Linked DNA regions of Homo sapiens: region 2 is linked to region 1. The links are contacts of gene promoters, found by promoter capture Hi-C in human tissues and cell types (Jung and others, 2019). All regions are on one chromosome and are shown on one strand. Each heading gives the region's core, a stretch centred on a gene start or on the middle of the fragment in contact. The rest is flanking DNA. Distances are from core to core; before and after follow the strand shown. Region 1 holds the start of PRPH2 (peripherin 2). Region 2 has its middle 8.9 kb from the start of GUCA1B.

Region 1 (4,576 bases), core at 922-3,421:
AATCGTGGCATCTTGTGCTGCCCCTGCAGACCTGTCACCTGGGAAGGGCACAGCCCTTTACAATCCTCTCCTGACTGGGGATTTGCAGCAGTAATCTCCATCCACAAGAAAATAAAATCCCAAGAAGTGACCTTCACTTGGACGTCCCTTCCATCTGCAGGGCAGATATAAGCTAGCTATTTGGGCGTCATTAATGTTGTTTTGGGCTTCAAACATGTCCTGCTGCTGGTGCCAATGCCCTGAGTTCAAGTTCCCTTTGGACTTGCCAGCCTCACTGGGAAGAAAAAAAAACCACCCTTAGGAATAACTGAACCCCTAACCTCAGCCAGGTAGGGTCGAGTCAGACAGAAAGAAGAGGTGAGGGAAAGCGGCTGCCTCAAGGCAGGCTGCCCTTTCCCTGAAAAGTCACTCGAGCCCCAGGTTGGTGGGTGTGTTGGGAAGAGCAGCCCGCTGGAGCCAGTGCACAGGCTGTTCCCTCCGACACAGTGGTCGAGAGTCTCTCTCTCACCAGCACCTCCCACAGCCCATCGCAGCATTTTACTTTTACATATGCCAAGAATACTTTAGAAATGCTTTATCACATTGCACTATCATGACTCGCTAAGTAAACACCAGCAAGCATTTAATGAGTACCTGCTGCATGCCAGCTACCAGGCAGGGCTAGGAGGTGACTTCCAAAATTACCTATTCTATTCCAGTGCTCATTTAAAAGATGGGCAAGCCAAAGCGCAGAGTGACTAGTGACCTGCCCAAGGTCACAAGACCTTGAACAACAGAACCAAAACTTCACCCTAGATCTCATGACTTCCCCTTCCTATGCTCTTTCCAACATATCCAGACAAACATCTTGGGAATGGATGCTCAGGGTTGAAAGGTTGGAAAACAAGGGAACTAACTAGGAAATTTAAACTTCTGGGACTGAATCCATCTACTTTGAATGAATGGGACAAATAGCCAAATAGTACCTCAGTGTTTGTGATCTATGAATGACTTCCATCCCTCTGTATAAAGTGGACACACATTGCTGCCTGGCTCTTCATCCCAAGGGGCTCCTATCCAAACAGCTTATATAAATTGATACCTTCCTACCACCTTAGCCAATGTTAGGTTGAACCCTATGAAGTTGTCATTTTTTATGGGTCAAAGAGGTAGAATATTAGCAATTTCATATGGTTCCACCTGATACACCCTCACATACGCAGCAATAAGTTGTGCACCCGATGGAGAGGAAAAGGCACTGGGTGCGGGGAGAGGGGCTGGTCAGAGGCCTGAGCCTCAGTGTCCCCAATATATTCATAGCTCTGACCCCAGGACTGGAAGCCACTCACTCTTTGACTTCTTTGGAGGAAAAGTCCAGGTAGCGATTGCTGATCCACTGAATCTCAAACCAGTCCCGAAAACCGTTGTTGCCGCAGCATTTGAACTCGATCTGCAGCATGTCGATGGTCTTCTTCATGAAACACCTGCCAGGGGTGTCTGTGTCCCGGTAGTACTTCATGCCGTTCTTGAGCCCTTGGCCCAGGGTGTTCTCCAGCGAGCCCCGAAGCAGAAAGCAGCAGAGAGCCACAAGGAAGAGGATGATGTTGAAGAGAACACAGATAGCCAGGTACGGCTTCAGCCAGGGCTTCCATCTGGCATACTTGGCTGGGTCCAGGGCGTCGTAGCAGATCTTCCCAGCCAGCGAGTTGAAGACACAGGATAGCACCCCCATCCCTATCAATGAGTTGGGCACAAAATGGCTCTCAGAATTATTCATCACATCGCTCCTCTTTCGGAGTTCAATCTTCAGGAACAGTCCTAGGCTGAAGATGATGATGCCAGCCAACACGGAGAACCAGTTCATGAGCCAGAGCCCTTGGGCCAACTTGACCCGCTTCTTCTGGTCAAACTTGACTTTCAGTAGCGCCATGCTTGCCAAGTGTAGTCCGGGTTGCTTCCCACAGCACAGCTCCCACCCCAAACCTTAACGAGCCCAGAGGCGGAGACTTAGGGCCTTGGGAAAAGTGCAGATGGCCCAAGCTGTAGGGAGCTGCCCTGGGGGCTACCCATGTCGAGTCCCACTAGCCTGGGATCCCCGTGAATGCAGTAGTGGTGGCAGGGGTCTCGGAATCACAGCTTGAGCAGGGGATAGTCCTGGTCCTGGGCGTTGTTTCTTCAGCGCCCTTCCCAGCCAAGAAGGGGCAGCCTGAACGCTGCAGATTAAAAGTGGGATCCACAAGACATTTTGCTAATCTCTTTAGCCAGGTTCATCCCATTAGATAAAGCCATGCCACTCTCAAAACATGGTCAAAAGCAGCCTCCAGGTACATGCTGAACCAGAAAGCTCTGGGTACAGCTTGGAGAATCAGGAGCAAAGGGCAAGACTGGCCAGAAGAATGGGCTGTATCTGGATGTCTGGCTCAGACCGTGTTGCTCCCCAAAAGCATATTTCCAGGCCAATCTCCTTCAACATTTAAAACTTTCTGTAGGACAAATAAATTGTTATCCTCTCTGAGAAAAGAAATGACAGGGCCAGGCACAGTGGATCACGCCTATAATCCCAGCACTTTGGGAGACCAAGTTGGGTGGATCACTTGAGCCCAGGAGTTCAAGACCAGCCTGGGCTACATAGGAAGACCCCATCTCCACACACACACACACACACACAAAAAAAAAAAAAAAAAAATTAGCTGGGTATGGTGGCATGCACCTGTAGTTCTCCCAGCTACTCTGGAGGCTGAGGTGGCAAGATCACCTGAGCCTGGGGAGTTCAAGGCTGCACTGAGCCATGATCGTGCCACTGCACTCCAGCCTGGGTGACAGAGTGAGGCCCTGTCTCAAATTTTAAAAAGACAAAGAAAAGAAGAGAAGAAGGAAGGAAAGAAAGAAAGTGACAGATCGTGAGAAAACATTTGCAACTTGTAAAATTAAAAAGTAATATACAGTGGCCAGGCATGGTGGCTTATGCCTGTAATCCCAGTACTTTGGGAGGCCAAGGCAGGTGGATCGCTTGAGCCCAGGAGGTGGAGGTTGCACTGAACTGAGATCCCCACATTGCACTCCAGCCTGGGTGACAGTGAGACTCTGTCTGGAAAAAAAAAAAAAAGAATTAATATGCAAAAATGTTTTAAGTCTCACAAATTCACAATAAACAAAAATTCACAATCAAAAGACCAATAATCAACTGGAAAAATAGGCAAAAACCAGGAACAGACAATTCATAATTAGGAAACTTGAAAAGTCCAATAATCTGGAAAAGATCTCAACTTGGGTAATAAGCAGGAAAATGCAAATCCAAACAACAATAAAATACCAAACTTGGCCGGGCACAGTGGTTCACACCTGTAATCCCAGCAGTTTGGAAGGCCAAGGTGGGTGGATCACTTGAGGTCAGGCATTCAAGACCAGCCTGGCCAACATGGTGAAACCCTGTCTCTACTAAAAATACAAAAATTGTCTGGGTATGGTGACAGGCACCTGTAATCCCAGTTACTTGTGAGGCTGAGGAAGGAGCATCAATTGAACCCGGGAAGTGGAGGTTGCAGTGAGCCAAGATTGCGCCATTGCACTCCAGCCTGGGTGACAAGAGTGAAATGACGTCTCAAAAAAAGAAAAAGACCAAACTCGATCCATCAAATTGAATGTATGTCAAAATTCTGTCACCATACATCAACAAAGAGAGTGGAAGTAGAAGTGTACACTCTTGGTGAATCTGTACATTTATTATTATTATTAATTAATGGATTATTTCTTACAGTAGTTTTAGGTTTACAAAAAAATTGAACAGAAAATACAGGGAGTTCCCATTATTCTCCATCTCCCCAACCAGTTTCTCCTCTAATTAATATCTTGCATTAATGTGGTACATTTGTTACAATTAATGAACCAATATTGATGCACTATTATTAACTAAAGTCTATAGTTTACATTAAGGTTCAGTCTTTGTGCATATAATTCTGTCACTTTTGCCAAATGCATAATGTCATGTATTCATCATTATTGTATCATACAGAATACTTCCACTACTCTAATAACCTGCCATGTTCTGCCTATTCATTCCTCCTTCCCTCACTCCTCAGCCCTGGGCAACCACCGTCTAGATCTATAGTTTTGCCTTATCTAGAATATCTTACAGTTGGAATCATACAACATGTAGCCTTTTCAGACTGGCTTCTTTCCCTTAGCAATATATGTGATTAATGATTCTCTGTATCTTTTCACGGCTTAATAGCTCATTTCTTCTTATCACTGAATAACGTTTCATCACATGGATGTACCACGGTTTATTCCTTCACCTATCAGAGAATATCCTGGTTGATTCCAGTTTTTGACAATTATGAATAAAACTGCTATAAACATCCACGTGCAGGTTTTTGCTGAAAAATTTTCCATTCATCTGGGTAAATATCTAGGAGCACAATGGCTAGATTACATAGTAAGACTATGTTTAACTTTGTAAGAAACTGCCAATCTGTCTTGCAAAGTGACTGTACAATTTTGCATTCCTACCAGCAATTTTTACTTCATGTCCTTGCCAACATTTGATATTGTCAGTGTTTCAGATTTTAACCACTGTAATAGGTGTGTAGCTGCATCT
Region 2 (4,576 bases), core at 1,240-3,739, 520 kb before region 1:
CTGAATTAACGTCAGCTATCACTCCTTCATTTTACAAGACAATTCCTCTTTGACTCTGTTTAGTGTCTAGATTAGCAGGTATTTGTTGAGATAAAAATGATAATGGGATTTTAGAACTGGAAAAGGCCTTGAAGATTATCTAGCCCATTAATTTCCAATTACCCATCTCAACACACTTTAAGATAACACATGCCCATCAGCAGCCGTGGCTCTGTAACAGCAGCATCTCAACTGGCTTGGTGTGAAGGTAGTATTATTCCCATCCATCTCTCTTTTTTTAGACAGGGAGACAGGGTCTTCCTCTGTCACCCAGGCTGGAGTGCAGTGGAACACTCTCGGTTCACTGCAACCTCCATCTTCCGGGTTCAAGCAATTCTTATGTCTCAGCCTCCTAAGCACCTGGAATGCCCAGCTAATTTTTGTATTTTTAGTGGAGGTGGTGTTTTGCCATGTTGGCCAGGCTCCATCCATCTCTTAACACTTATTATTTAAGCAGCATTGAAGATTGATTAAAGTACAGTATCTCTGCCCAAGTTAAGAAATTTTATGAGTGAAATATAACTTGATTTAACCTCTGGCCGAGGAATTTAAAATTCAATTGGTTTTTCATGTGGGTCAGTTGCCCATGACCTGCCCTATAAATAAATGTCGCTGAGCTACTGAGTTATAAATATATCATTTTAAAGAGGATTAGAAATCCAGCCGGGCATGGTGGCTCAAGCCAGTAATCCCAGCGCTTTGGGAGGCTGAGGTGGGCGGATCACTTGAGGTCAGGAGTTTGAGACCAGCCTGGCCAACACACCGAAACCCCATCTCTACTAAAAATACAAAAGTTAGCTGGGCGTGGTGGCGGGTGCCTGTAATCCCAGCTACTCAGGAAGCTGAGGCACGAGAATCGCCTGAACCTGGGAGGCAGAGGTTGCAGTGAGCCGAGATTGTGCCACTGCACTCCAGCCTGGGCGACAGTCAGACCCTGTCTCAAAAAATAAACAAATAAATAAATAAAAATAAAATAAATAAATAAATAGATAAATAAAATAAAGAGGATTAAGAATCCATAGAGAGAAATGAGAGCTTGAAGTGAGTAACAATAGAAAGGATTTAAGGAGGGCAGGGTTAGGAATTGAGCAGGGGATTTGGAAAGAGAGTCCTGGGGATTGCAGGCAGTCAGCCATAAGCCTGGCTCCAGGGGCAAAGATATGCTTAAAATCGACAAACCCATGTCTTCTGAGCCCTAGTCAGGCTGGACCTGAAGCCCCACTGTGAATCATCTCCATCTGAGTGTTCTTGTGACCGAGTAGGACTCCCCTTGCTGATGCCTAAACTCTTGTGTTGCCCCCTCCCTCAGGACCAGTCTGAGCAGTGGGACCACCTAAATTGTGCCGTGTATCTTGCTTCTTGCTTTAATTCATTAATTTTTCCTCCCAGTCAATCACTTTACTTCTAAGCTTTAGACCAAGCTTATCCAATTGGAGGCCCACGGGCTGCATGCGGCCCAGGACGGCTTTGAATGCAGCCCAACACAAATTGGTAAACTTTCTTAAAACATTGTGAGATTTTCTTTCATGATTTTTTTTTTAATTAGCTATTATTAGCGTTAGTGTATTTTATGTGTGGCCCAAGACAATTCTTTCAATGTGGCCCAGGGAAGCCAAAAGATTAGACACCCCTGCTTTAGAGGAAACGAGTACATTTTGGTAACGTGAGAGGTGAACAAACCTGGAATTTAGCTTTGAATATTCTGCATTTAGTATGTGGATATTTGAGTACCTCATAGCCTGCTTACAAATTAGCTTCTAGGGCTGACCCTGTCACTAACAGCTTCATCTGTAAGCTGAAAGGGTGACTGAGTGGGCAAATAACAACTCTCTAAGCCTTGGTTTTCTGTCCTGTAAAATGGGGACAATGGTAAGTACTTCAGTGTGTTAATAAAAATCAAAGGATTTTTGGTTTGTGGCTGGGCGCTGTGGCTCATGCCTATAATCCCAGCACTTTGGGAGGCTGAGGCTGGCAGATTGCTTGAGCTTACAAGTTTGAGACCAGCCTGGGCAACATGGCAAAACCCTGTTTCTACAGAAAAAAAAAAGAAAGAAAAAAAAAGAAAAATTAGCCGAGTGTGGTGATGTGTGCCTATAGTCCCAGCTACTAAGGGGGCTGAGGTAGGAGGATCATTTAAGCCCAGGAGGCGGAGGTTACAGTGAGCCAAGATTGTCACTGCACTCCAGCCTGGGTGATAGAGCCAGAACTGTCTGAAAAACAACGCTAAGGGCTGGGTGCGGTGGCTTATGCCTGTAATCCCAGCACTTTGGGAGGCCGAGGCGGGCGGATCACGAGGTCAGGAGATCGAGACCATCCTGGCTAACACAATGAAACCCCGTCTCTACTTAAAAATACAAAAAATTAGCTGGGCGTGGTGGCGGGTGCCTGTAGTCCCAGCTACTCGGGAGGCTGAGGCAGGAGAATGGAGTGAACCTGGGAGGCGGACCTTGCAGTGAGATTGTGCCACCACACTCCAGCATGGGTGATAGAGCGAGACTCCATCTCAAAAAAACAAAAACAAAAACTCTAAGGTAAATGTTATCCCTACCCTGGAGGTAACCTGAGGTCTTTTCCAGCTGGTTCTTGAACAGTATAGCACACAAGCATCTAAAGTATCATCGGAATGGTACTGCCATTTACTGAATGTCTGTTACCTGCTCAATACTGTGCAAGGTTTTTTATCAGTTATCGAATACTCCAACCTTATTAAGCTGGAGCATTAAATATATGTCAAATGTAAGTATGTAGGTATTATTTCCTACAGACTTATTATTACCTTTACTAATGAGTACACTGAGGCCCTGACAGGGTTAAATCTCTTGCCCAAGTTTACGGCAGTCAGTGGGTTTGAACTCTTATCTGACTCATGTCTGTCTGACTCCAAAGTCCATGTTTGCTCTATTCTGTCATTCATTAGTCTTGTAATAGAACTAACTTAATAATGTAATGTAAGACAGGGATGGTTGCAGACAACTAGAAATGTTAAGAAACTAGACTAATAATTTAAAATGATTGCTTTATGTATTCACTGTGGCATGTTTAAATGGTCATAGGGCCAGGAACATATGCCATTCTTTCAAAGCACTGAAACTTGGCACTTGAACTAGTTTAGTCTGTCTTACCAGAGATCTGTAGTTATACTAAGACTCTTGGATGAGAACATGATTTTATTTAATATGAAGAAAATATAGGCTGGGCATGATGGCTGATGCCTGTAATCTCAGTATTTTGGGAGGCCAAGGCCGAAGAATCACTTGAGGTCAGGAATTTGAGACCAGCCTTGGCAACAAAGTGAGACCCCCATCTCTACAAAAAGATTAAAAAATTAGCCATGTATCATGGTACATGCCTGTGGTTCCAACTACCTGGGAGGCTGAGGCAGGAGGATCATCTGAGCCCAGGAGGTCAAGGCTGCAGTGAGCTGTGTTCATGCCACTGCACTCCAGCCTGGGCGACAGAGCAGGACCCTGACTCCAAAAAATAAAAAAATGAGCTGAGTGTGGTGGTGCACACATTTAGTCTCAGCTACTTGGGAGGCTGTGGTGGGAAGATCCCTTGAGCCCATAAGTTCGATTGTGTAGTGAGCTTTGATCGTACCACTGCACTCCAGCCTGGGCAACAGAACAAGACTCTGTCTCTACAAAAAAAAAAAAAAAAAAGAAAAAGAAAAAAGATCATCTCACTTCCTACCTGCCTTCTGGTTCATTCTATTTTTTTTCTTTTTTTTGAGATGGAGTTTCACTCTTGTTGCCCATGGCGTGATCTTGGCTCATCGCAACCTCTGAGTTCAAGGGATTCTCCTGCCTCAGCCTCCCAAGTAGCTGGGATTACAGGCATGCGCCACCACACCCTGCTAATTTTGTATTTTTAGAAGAGACAGGGTTTCTCATATTGGCCAGGCTGGTCTCCAACTCCCAACCTCACATGATCCGCCCGCCTCAGCCTCCCAAAGTGCTGGGATTACAGGCGTGAGTCACCACTCCTGGCCGGTTCATTCTATTTTTTTTTTGCCATTACTTTTAATGGCAAAAACTGCAATTACTTTTGCACCAACATATATTATCAAATCCACTCTTCTCTCACCATCTCCCATACCCACCATGGACAGAAAGTGTGACCCAGGCATTAATTCTAATTTTCAGGATATGCATTTTACTCAGAGGCCTAATTTAAAACCAACAAAAGAAAACCAAAAATCTTCTTAGCCTATCAAGATAGCTATATCCTGATAAGCTAAGAAGTTATTTTGTTTATATCATTTTTTCAGTACTGTACTTCATGCCAAACTTGTTTATATCAAGAAGCGGGCTTCAAATATGCCAAATACTTTCGTCGAAGAAATACTGCTAGTTTTGGGCCAGGCGCAGTGGCTCATGCCTGTAATCCCAGCACTTTGGGAGGCCGAGGCAGGTGGATCACGAGGTCAAGAGATCAAGACCATCCTGGCCAACATGGGGAAACCCCATCTCTACTAAAAATACAAAAATCAGCTGGGCGTGGTGGCACATGCCTGTAGTCCCAGCTACTTGGGAGGCTG

The links. The method cuts DNA at HindIII sites, captures the fragments that hold promoters and counts their contacts. A contact is called where the count stands out against the background at its distance.
Region 2: a contact is called between a fragment that was not itself captured here and the fragment with the promoter of PRPH2 in region 1, in 1 of the 25 tissues and cell types used here (H1 embryonic stem cells).

Annotation. Positions count from the first base shown.
Region 1 is chr6:42,720,426-42,725,001 of GRCh38, forward strand. PRPH2 (peripherin 2) reads right to left here and starts at 2,172. Exons shown (of 3, transcript NM_000322.5): 1 at 1,329-2,172. The coding sequence starts at 1,909. The HindIII fragment of the contact is 25,287 bases long and covers 1-4,576 here.
Region 2 is chr6:42,201,546-42,206,121 of GRCh38, forward strand. No RefSeq gene overlaps it. Among named protein-coding and RNA genes, the nearest start is that of GUCA1B, 8.9 kb to the left of the region's middle. The HindIII fragment of the contact is 6,721 bases long and covers 1-4,576 here.